3 separate regions of the Homo sapiens genome follow, and all the other regions are linked to region 1. The links are contacts of gene promoters, found by promoter capture Hi-C in blood cells and fetal thymus (Javierre and others, 2016). All regions are on one chromosome and are shown on one strand. Each heading gives the region's core, a stretch centred on a gene start or on the middle of the fragment in contact. The rest is flanking DNA. Distances are from core to core; before and after follow the strand shown. Region 1 holds the start of HSF2 (heat shock transcription factor 2). Region 2 holds the start of TFB1M (transcription factor B1, mitochondrial). Region 3 holds the start of ASCC3 (activating signal cointegrator 1 complex subunit 3).

Region 1 (2,830 bases), core at 172-2,671:
AAAAAAGAACAAATAATAACACAAGGCAAACTATGGTATTACAGAAGTCAAAACTTCAGGGTCTTAATATGGTGCTCACTCCCTGTTAAGACAAAAGTAAATAAAACTAAGAGTTCCTATAATAGGAGAACAGGAAAGAAAGGAGGACGGGAGATAACATTTACTCAGCACTTAACAGGTGCCAGGCACTATGCAGGTAGTTTTCACTTATTCTTCTCAAGAACTACACATATGAAAATATGCCTCAATAGGTGATCATCTACAATAAGAGTTAACCACTTTCCTTCATAAAAATGATTCCAACAGCCTAGGAGTGTATTCTAATGCACATGCACTGTGGATGTAAATAATCATTCTGCCTAAAATCTTGTATTTGGGACTGATATAGGTCTTGGGTCACCTAGGCAACCCATCCATCTTATGAAAGATTTAACTTAGGCCAGACAAGATAAAGGGCTGGACTAAGGTCATGCTTGTTTAGAAGCAGAGTTGAGATCAAACCAATAATCAACACATCGATATGCCCCTCTGCTGGTAACTGTTCAGCGAAATTTAGTAACTACTAAGTTACCACCTATTAGTACTTTATTAAAACAATCCTAATAATCCCATTATACAAATAGCACAGAATCTCAAAAGAATAATTTGTTAATTTCTATATATTTTTAAAACCAACTGATAAGCAGTAACCTGCGTTTGAACGTATGTCTATTGCCCTGACTGCTCTCCACATAAAGATGCCAGATGCAAAGCAATGTTGGGGGAACTGGGGGTGATCGGTCGCTGAGGTAAAGATCGCCTCCTATAAAGCCCCACGTTGATGATCCTGGCCCTGGGCTCCCTGTCCCCTCCGCGATTTGTAACCCCTGAGCCGGGCGGGAGGACGGAGGATGAGTGTGCAGTAAAGAGGCTCCCGCGCCCTCGGCTCGCCGATTCCCCTCGCGACGCCGGGCCGGTTCCGAACGCGGACCGGACCGTTAAGGGGCTGCCTGGGCCGCTACGCCCCGCGCGGGCCGCCCCTCCCCCACCGCGGCCTGAGGAGAGCGGCGCTGCCGGCCGGGCCCCCGCGGCTCCCCGAGCGAACAATACAGGGGGTCCCCCGCGAGGCTGAACGCCAAGGCCCCGCACCGCGGGCCTCGCAGACAGCGTCGAGCCGCAAGGCCGCGAGAGACCACCCCGCAGGAGAGCGAGTGAGGAGGCGGTTATTCAGGGGGTTCAGAGGCCGCCGTGGCCTGACCGTACCTGGCTCCAGGTGATGAACTCGTTAGTGTGGGTTTCCTCCACAAGCGTCCACAGCTTGCTGAGGAAAGCCGGCACGTTCGAACTCTGCTTCATTGTTAACGCGGCGCAGGGATTCCAAATTCTACACCCGAACGCGGTGGTAGCGGCGGCGGCAGCTACGGCAGCAGCTCCCCGAGAACGCCCACAACGCAGGCGCAGCAGATCTTGGTCCCCGCCCCCCCAACCCCGCCAGGCGCGCGGCAAGGCCGAGAGGCCGGGCGGCCGCACGTGACGGACAAGTCTCCGCGCTCCGCCTGTGCGCGCAGTGGTTCCGCGCCTGTCCCGTCCCTGGCCAATCCCAGGAGCCGACTGCACGACAGAGAAAAGCGATTGGCTGCTGCTGACATGAAGGGGGTGGGAGCAGAAGGGGGTGGGAGCAGAAGGGGGCGCTGCCTCCTCATTTGCCTTTTATACAGAAGCCTTGATGGTAGCAGACTTAGGCTTGGGAGACCGTGTTTGGATGTTTCACGTGGAAACAGCTTATGGTTTCTGGGCTGTGGCTGGGAGGCTACAGAAACCCTTCAGGGCCTTTGAGTCATAAGTTTGGCAGGCAAAGTGTGGTTTGCACCAGTTTAGAGAAAGGATCCATTTGCATAAGGAAAAAACCAGCTCTCAAGCATGATGTGCTAGGCCCCAAATTGAAATTGTCTTAAAAATAATGAAACTTGTTCTTACATTTTCATTGGGAGAAAAAGCCCTCTTTAAAATATGTTTATCAAAAAGAGCAGTTTAAATAACTCACTCTCGATTACTTAAAACTGTAAACCAGGAACTGCAATTGATATATCATGTGCTGTTTTTAATCCAGTCATCAAGTGCCTACTCTGTACCCAGAATAAAAAGAAATAGACTCATTTGTACTATTTTAGTTAATTAAAATAGTTTTTCCTGCGTATACTTTACAGATATAGTCTTTTTTGCCTAAGAGATTGGTATAGTGGAAAAAACAATGGAAAAGGAGTCAGTAGATCTCAGTTTAGATAAAGCCTCTTGGACATTTTTCTGTATATTAAAATACACTGGTTCTGTCATTTAGAACAATTCCTTAGCCACCAGTGCCAGTTTTTTCCATTTCTTGACTGGGAATAAGATCTATCTTTTTACCCACTAAGAGTGTCTTTAATACTATAATGGCTGTGCAAATGCTTTGAAAATATGAAGTCTACAAAATTCGACTTTTTTTTTTTACAAAAGTCAGCATGTGAAGGCAAAAACTTACAAACAAGTCAGAGATAACATACAAAACTTCAACATAGGATTGGTTTACTTCTTGGGTGAATGTAAAATAGTACATTAAATATATATCTATCATTTAATGGAAGATATATGTATATCTCTTCCAATGAGCAAGTATTTAGTGAATGCTGCCTTTGTGCTCAGCACTGGGATGTTGGCTGAAGCAAAATCAGATATATGGAGGCATGCATGTGATAGAGGAAGTAATATTTGATGAGCCCTTATATATGCCAAGGGCTTTACATATATTATTGAATCCTCACAACAACCCAATGAACTAGGTTTTATTATCCCATTTTCCCAGAGAAGATTC
Region 2 (2,830 bases), core at 119-2,618, about 33 Mb before region 1:
CCAGTGAGATCAGAACTCAGAAAAAACACAACTCAGGTTGTCTTCTCTCTGTACTTTGCTGTCTGACTCTGGGCATTGTCAAATGACCTCACCTCCCCTATTTCTTCACAGCAAACTAAGAATAATAATCTCATTCACATGGGACCATTGTGAGGAGTACGGGAAATAATGAATATAACTGTGAAATAATGCTTTGTCAGGTATACTGTGTTTTGGACGATAAGATATCTGAATCAAGAGTTTGTACTTCCAGTCTACATTTTGATGCCACGTTGGGCAAATCTCCTTACCTCTATGGTAGTCATCACTATTTTTTAAAGCTAGGAGATTATCTCAGTTCCTTTTAAAACAGCTTTTATAGAAGGTGGTTGAGTTTTCCACTGGAATTTCAAAGTACTCCTCATTTTTATATCCATACCCATAGTTGTTTCGTTTTCCATTAGCTTTTTTAAAAACTTACTAATTGAGGAACAGAAACTTTAAAATTCATTTGTGATCAACGCAGCAATGTCCAAACATAAGCAGGGTTAAAACAGCAAAATTCTCCCACCTATCAGAGAAACTTTAATTTTTTTTTTTTTTTGCTTCGTTGTTTTTATCTCGTATAACGGAAAGACAGAACTCATATTTCAGTCTTCTCTCTGTTCTTAGCTGTAATCCTAGCAAATCGAATGACCTCTTTACACTGGCCAATTATTCATCTGCCAAATAATAACAGCCACCACTGATCACGTGGGAGCTTACCCAATGCCATGCGTGCACTATGTTCTGAACGTGCACACCAGGCGATCTCTCTCATTTAGTGCTCACAATTTTGAGGTAGACATTAGCTCCATTTAACTGATGAAAAAACTGAGGCTGAACGAAGTTAAAAACCCATCATGCAGCATCTGCAGAGCGGCGGTTCTAAAAACGCCTCACAGTAAGAAAGAATTGCTAACAAACAGTAGCTTTGCCTCTAAGCACCCGCTTTTCCTCTAATATTCACAGACAGGTATTTAGAACGTTAAAGAGCCGGAAGCCCTTGGGAACTTCAGGGCGGGAGTAAACCGGCTGCACCTCTCAGAGCAACTCCTCCGAAAAACCCCACCCTGTCCAGGCCCCGCCTCGTCCCGCCCTCCTGGGCGCTCTCCCCATAGCCCGCCCAGGAGAAGCCTAGTCCACCCGGCTCTCCCCCGGCTCTCACAGGCGGAAGCCGCCGACCACCCAGCCTGCCCTTCTCGCGGCAGGACTTAGCGCATGCGCTCTCAGCACGCCGGGAATTTCCTGTCCGCGGTCATCGCTTCCGGTGGGATAGGTCTGACCAATGGGGCTGACTCCGAGGCGGGCCTTAGGTCTCGCAGGTTCCTCCCCTGCGCGTTTCTTTCGGAGCGGCGGTGAAGGTCCTGGGTGAGGTAGGGTTGGATGGTGCTTGCCGCGTATCATGGCTGCCTCCGGAAAACTCAGCACTTGCCGTCTCCCTCCGTTGCCCACGATTCGAGAAATCATTAAGTTGTTAAGACTGCAAGCAGCGAAGCAGCTATCACAGAATTTCCTCCTGGACTTGAGGCTGACAGGTGGATGGCTTAGCAGTGCTCCCCGGATGTCTCCCCAGTGTCCGTGGGGGCGTGGGCCGGGGGGTCTTGCACGTCCCCGCGGGCGGGTGTCCAGGCACTGGCGTGCGACGGGCTTTTGGTCAGGTCCTTCGACCTCTTTGTATCAGAACTCCGGTCCCACCGCCCAGGAGACACGTGAAGTGCGTTGATTGCTCACAAAACTCCGCGTTCGGGGGGGTGTAGCCTGCCGGCAGGCTGCATAAATGCCAAGCTCCCTAGGGGAGGAAGGGTTCATGGGTCGTGAAAGGCGCTAGTGAATATTGGAATCTGGGTCACTGTGAAATCAATCATTCTGAAATAGTACAGCACATGCTGACTGCAGTTGCTTTACATGCAGTTTAAAGTTACCAGAATTTAAATTGATGCGAGGATTTTATCAATAACTTGGTGAAAAGAGTATCCCTCGTATGATTCGTTTTTTAAACGTTTACCTGTTCAGTCTAAGCCTCGGGGGCGCTAATATTCATTCATAAGTACATATTACACAAGCAACATTGTGCTAGTGCCGGGGGTAGGATATGGGCGTGAACAAGGCGGTGTTTCCTCGAGGAGCTTACTTTTAGCAAGTTTACATTCCCACACCTAATTGTTTAAAGTTACTTTTTATGAGATATAATTTATGTGCAATAAAATTAATAAGTTTGAAGTGCTCAATTTGATGAGTTTTGACGAATGTATTTATATATTGGTTTAACCACCATCACCATTGCTTAGTGATGTTCTATGAGATGAGGTTGCAAAAATATATTACAAATACGTCTACTAAGTCACGGCTGGAGTACTTAGGTTTTGAGATTTTCATATTTCATTCTATTTAGTCCCACTTCAGAAGTTGAAAAGAGCAGTAAATCACACCCAAAAAGTTCATTTTCACTTAAATGAAGCACACTCCAGAAAACATAAAATGTTTTATTTCTTGGACATGTAGTCTTTATTCTGCCTGTACCAATATGACTTTGGATAAAATAATTTAACTCAAGTTTTCTCTTTTTTTTTTTTTTCTTTTTTTAAGATGGAGTTTCACTCTTGTTGCCCAAGCTGGAGTGCAATGGCATGATCTCAGCTCACTGCAACCTCCGCCTCCCCGGTTCAAGTGATTCTCGTGCCTCAGCCTCCCAGGTAGCTAGGATTACAGGCGTGAGCCACCGTGCCTAGCTAATTTTGTGTTTTTAGTAAAGACAGGGTTTCACTATGTTGCTCAGGCTGGTCTCAAACTCCTGATCTCAAGTGATCCA
Region 3 (2,830 bases), core at 112-2,611, about 22 Mb after region 1:
GCACCTCTCATTATCACTTGGCCTCCTTGCATTATTTATTTTTGTGATGCATTTGTCTTGTCTCATGAACTAACTTGTAAACTCTATGAAGTCCAGGACCAAAGACACATGTAATCTCAAGACTGGAAATATCTTTAACAAAACCATCAACTAATTATTCTGTTGATGTGTGGCTCCCCTGTACCAAGTCCCTATTAAGTGAGCTTCAGAATCTCCTTGAAGCAAAATTCTGTGGTTGAGGTATTCACACATGCTAAGGTAGGCAATTCTTTGGGTCGTGCTACAAGGGCATCTTCTTTTCAGGATCTTAAATCTGTTCCCTGAAGTTTGCATCACATGAAACAAATCAACTTCACATGATAGGTCATTTCATATTTGGAGAGAGTCCAGTAGTTTTCTCTCTTCTAGGTGAGTCCTGGAAGGTTTAATCAATCCTTCTTCACTTGCCCTGTTTTTGAGTTCTCGTCATCATTTTGCTCTTCCCTGATATAATGCCAGCTTGATTAAAGTCTTCAAATGCTGAACACAGCACTTCAGAGGTGGTCTGACCAGTAAAGACAATAACTGGATCACTATTGGCTGCCTCTACAAAACAGTTCTACCAGGCATCGGGGCACATTACCTTGAGGAAGCGGGAATGGCAGAAGAGAGCCACAACAAACATATTAACTCATACTATCTTTGCATTGTTGGCTTTTAGTCTAGAACTCTTTGCAGATAAACCACACAATTCTTTAGGTTAGTTTTTCTTCGTATCTTCCTATCTTTTCAATCGAGTTAGGGAATCTTTGGGCTTTCTGTTTTTGGAGGAGGTCTTCTGACCGAAGAGCCGACTTGCAGAGATCACTTTGAGGGAACTAAGCTGAGAATCCAGAAAGCTTATGGAAAACAGGCCTTGACACCAGAGAACCATGTATACTCTCTAGCAGCCAGAGGGCTTTGGCTGAAAACGACGATAGCAACTACCTGTTTCTTCATTCAAATTGCTCTCCTTTCCTTTACCTTTAATAGGAATTATTTCCTCCACATATTTACCTTACAGAGAAGGGCGGGGAGAAGACGCGGCAGACTGAAGTAAATGCAGGGAAAAAACTCACAGGTAGAGAGGTAGAGACGGCAGGCCTGGCCCGTTGCGGGCAGCCAGGGTAAAGTGGAGCGTCCCGCTCCCGCCCTGGGGCGCATCCTCGCCGCCGCCGGGACCTTCCGCCTCTGCTCCTCCGAACCCAGCGGACTAGAGGCTGGAGGCGGGAGGCGGAGCGGCGCGCGCACGCGGGCGGGGCAGAGGGCCCGGAGTCGACGAGTCGACGTGCCGACGTTGGCGCTGCAGCGGGGCGGTGACGTGTAGGCCGGCGCCAGCTCCACTCTGTCCCTCCTCGCCGGGTCTGTGCGTCTTTGCGTCTGTCTGTCTGACTGATGGTCCTCACACGCGGTTCCCTGTGACTGGGCGCGACCCCGGCAAGCGCGGCTTGGAGGGCGGACGGGGCGCGGCGATACAGCTGCCCGCTCGCATCTTTGGCCCTGCGCTCAGCTCCTCACCCGGCGTGGGAAGTTAAAGTAAAACCGAAAGGGAAGAAGGCGCGGTGGCAGGAGCTGACAGAGTGATGGGAAACGCGTGAGCCAGGCCGAGAGGTGAGGAGGTGGAGGTGGAGGTGGGAGGACGAGAAGGGTCGCCGCGGCCAGGGGAGCTGGCTGGAGGCGGGGACGGCGAGGCGGGCTACGCGACCCGCCAGAGATTCTCTTCCTGCCTCCGGGGCAAGTCCCGACCTGTCATCCTTTTCAGTGGCATGAGGTCGAGTCCGGGGTCTCGCAACAATACCGCCCATTCCTAGAGTTTGTAGGTGGGGTTGGGGATAGAAAACTTAACCTAAGCTACATATTGTCCAAGTGTTAAGCCACAACGTGACCAGATGAGGTTTTTCTGTCCCATGCATGGGTAATTTGTTTTCTTTTTTTCTGTTACAAAGCCTTGATAACTTCGTTTTCTTCACGTAGATTTGGGGAAAGAAATCTTCCTCATATTTTTCCCCCAACACACTGGAAAGTAAATAGGTAGCTGACCGTGATGGATTGTGGGTGAATTTCGCAATCAAGGAGCCTATAATGTCATTTTGAAATAAATAAATGTGTATGTGGGTGCTAGGGAGGTTTTGTGAGTACTGGGCAGTCATTTCAAATAGGTTTCTTATAAATTAACTTACTCATGGAATGCAGTGTGCTAATGGTATTTGCTATTCTTTGGTTTAAAAGAAGCATAATTCTAGGGGCTGGTAAAAGTTTGATGTGTTGTCACTTGTGCATTCAAACTCATGGTTACATTTTCTTTCTTTCCCTAGGTTAGGTGAGATTGACAGCCATTTTCTCCATCACCAGATTTTATGTTTCATAGATTGAAATCCTTTTTCTGATTCTCAAAGTTCTCAAATGTTGAGAATTAAGCTTTTGGTTTTACTATGGATTGTGCTCCAGTTTATGTTGTCTCTTTTTTTTAATGATGGTTATAATAGTCTTGCATGAGAAAAATGATCCTTAAAGATGCTCTTAAGCTTAGGCTAAATAATCCTATTTATATGAGAAATTAATTTTTCATGGTTCAGCTTTCTTGATCCCTGCTTAACAGTTTTTTGTCATTCATTCATTCAAGTCTTCCTATGTGTCAAACGCTGGGCTAGGCCTAGGAGAGCAAGAGAGAGACAGTCTCTGTGCTCATGAACTTTCTATAATCCAGCAGCCTCCTTTTAAGACAGAATCTTGACTAGGGTTCTTTCTCATGCCATGGATCTGTAGTTAACCAAAACAAAGCTTTTAAAAGAAAAAGTTATTGTCAATGTAT

What was found. The method cuts DNA at HindIII sites, captures the fragments that hold promoters and counts their contacts. A CHiCAGO score of 5 or more calls a contact.
Region 2: a contact is called between the fragment with the promoter of TFB1M here and the fragment with the promoter of HSF2 in region 1, in 1 of 17 cell types (total CD4 T cells). The highest score is 5.2, in total CD4 T cells.
Region 3: the fragment with the promoter of ASCC3 here is called in contact with the fragment with the promoter of HSF2 in region 1 in 3 of 17 cell types (non-activated CD4 T cells, activated CD4 T cells and total CD4 T cells); the score reaches 6.6 in non-activated CD4 T cells.

What each region holds. Positions count from the first base shown.
Region 1 is chr6:122,398,243-122,401,072 of GRCh38, reverse strand. It overlaps HSF2 (heat shock transcription factor 2), which reads right to left and starts at 1,421. Exons shown (of 13, transcript NM_004506.4): 1 at 1,243-1,421. The coding sequence starts at 1,335. RefSeq lists silencers at 976-1,095, 1,366-1,685 and an enhancer at 626-1,125. The HindIII fragment of the contact is 3,471 bases long and covers 1-2,830 here.
Region 2 is chr6:155,313,022-155,315,851 of GRCh38, reverse strand. It overlaps TFB1M (transcription factor B1, mitochondrial), which reads left to right and starts at 1,368. Exons shown (of 7, transcript NM_016020.4): 1 at 1,368-1,556. The coding sequence starts at 1,424. RefSeq lists enhancers at 554-603, 1,154-1,203, 285-1,275, 1,274-1,593 and a silencer at 1,024-1,103. The HindIII fragment of the contact is 4,007 bases long and covers 1-2,830 here.
Region 3 is chr6:100,879,860-100,882,689 of GRCh38, reverse strand. It overlaps ASCC3 (activating signal cointegrator 1 complex subunit 3), which reads left to right and starts at 1,361. Exons shown (of 42, transcript NM_006828.4): 1 at 1,361-1,629. LOC107984041 (a long non-coding RNA gene) reads right to left here and starts at 1,233. Exons shown (of 8, transcript XR_007059692.1): 1 at 1,036-1,233. RefSeq lists an enhancer at 1,398-1,517. The HindIII fragment of the contact is 1,558 bases long and covers 881-2,438 here.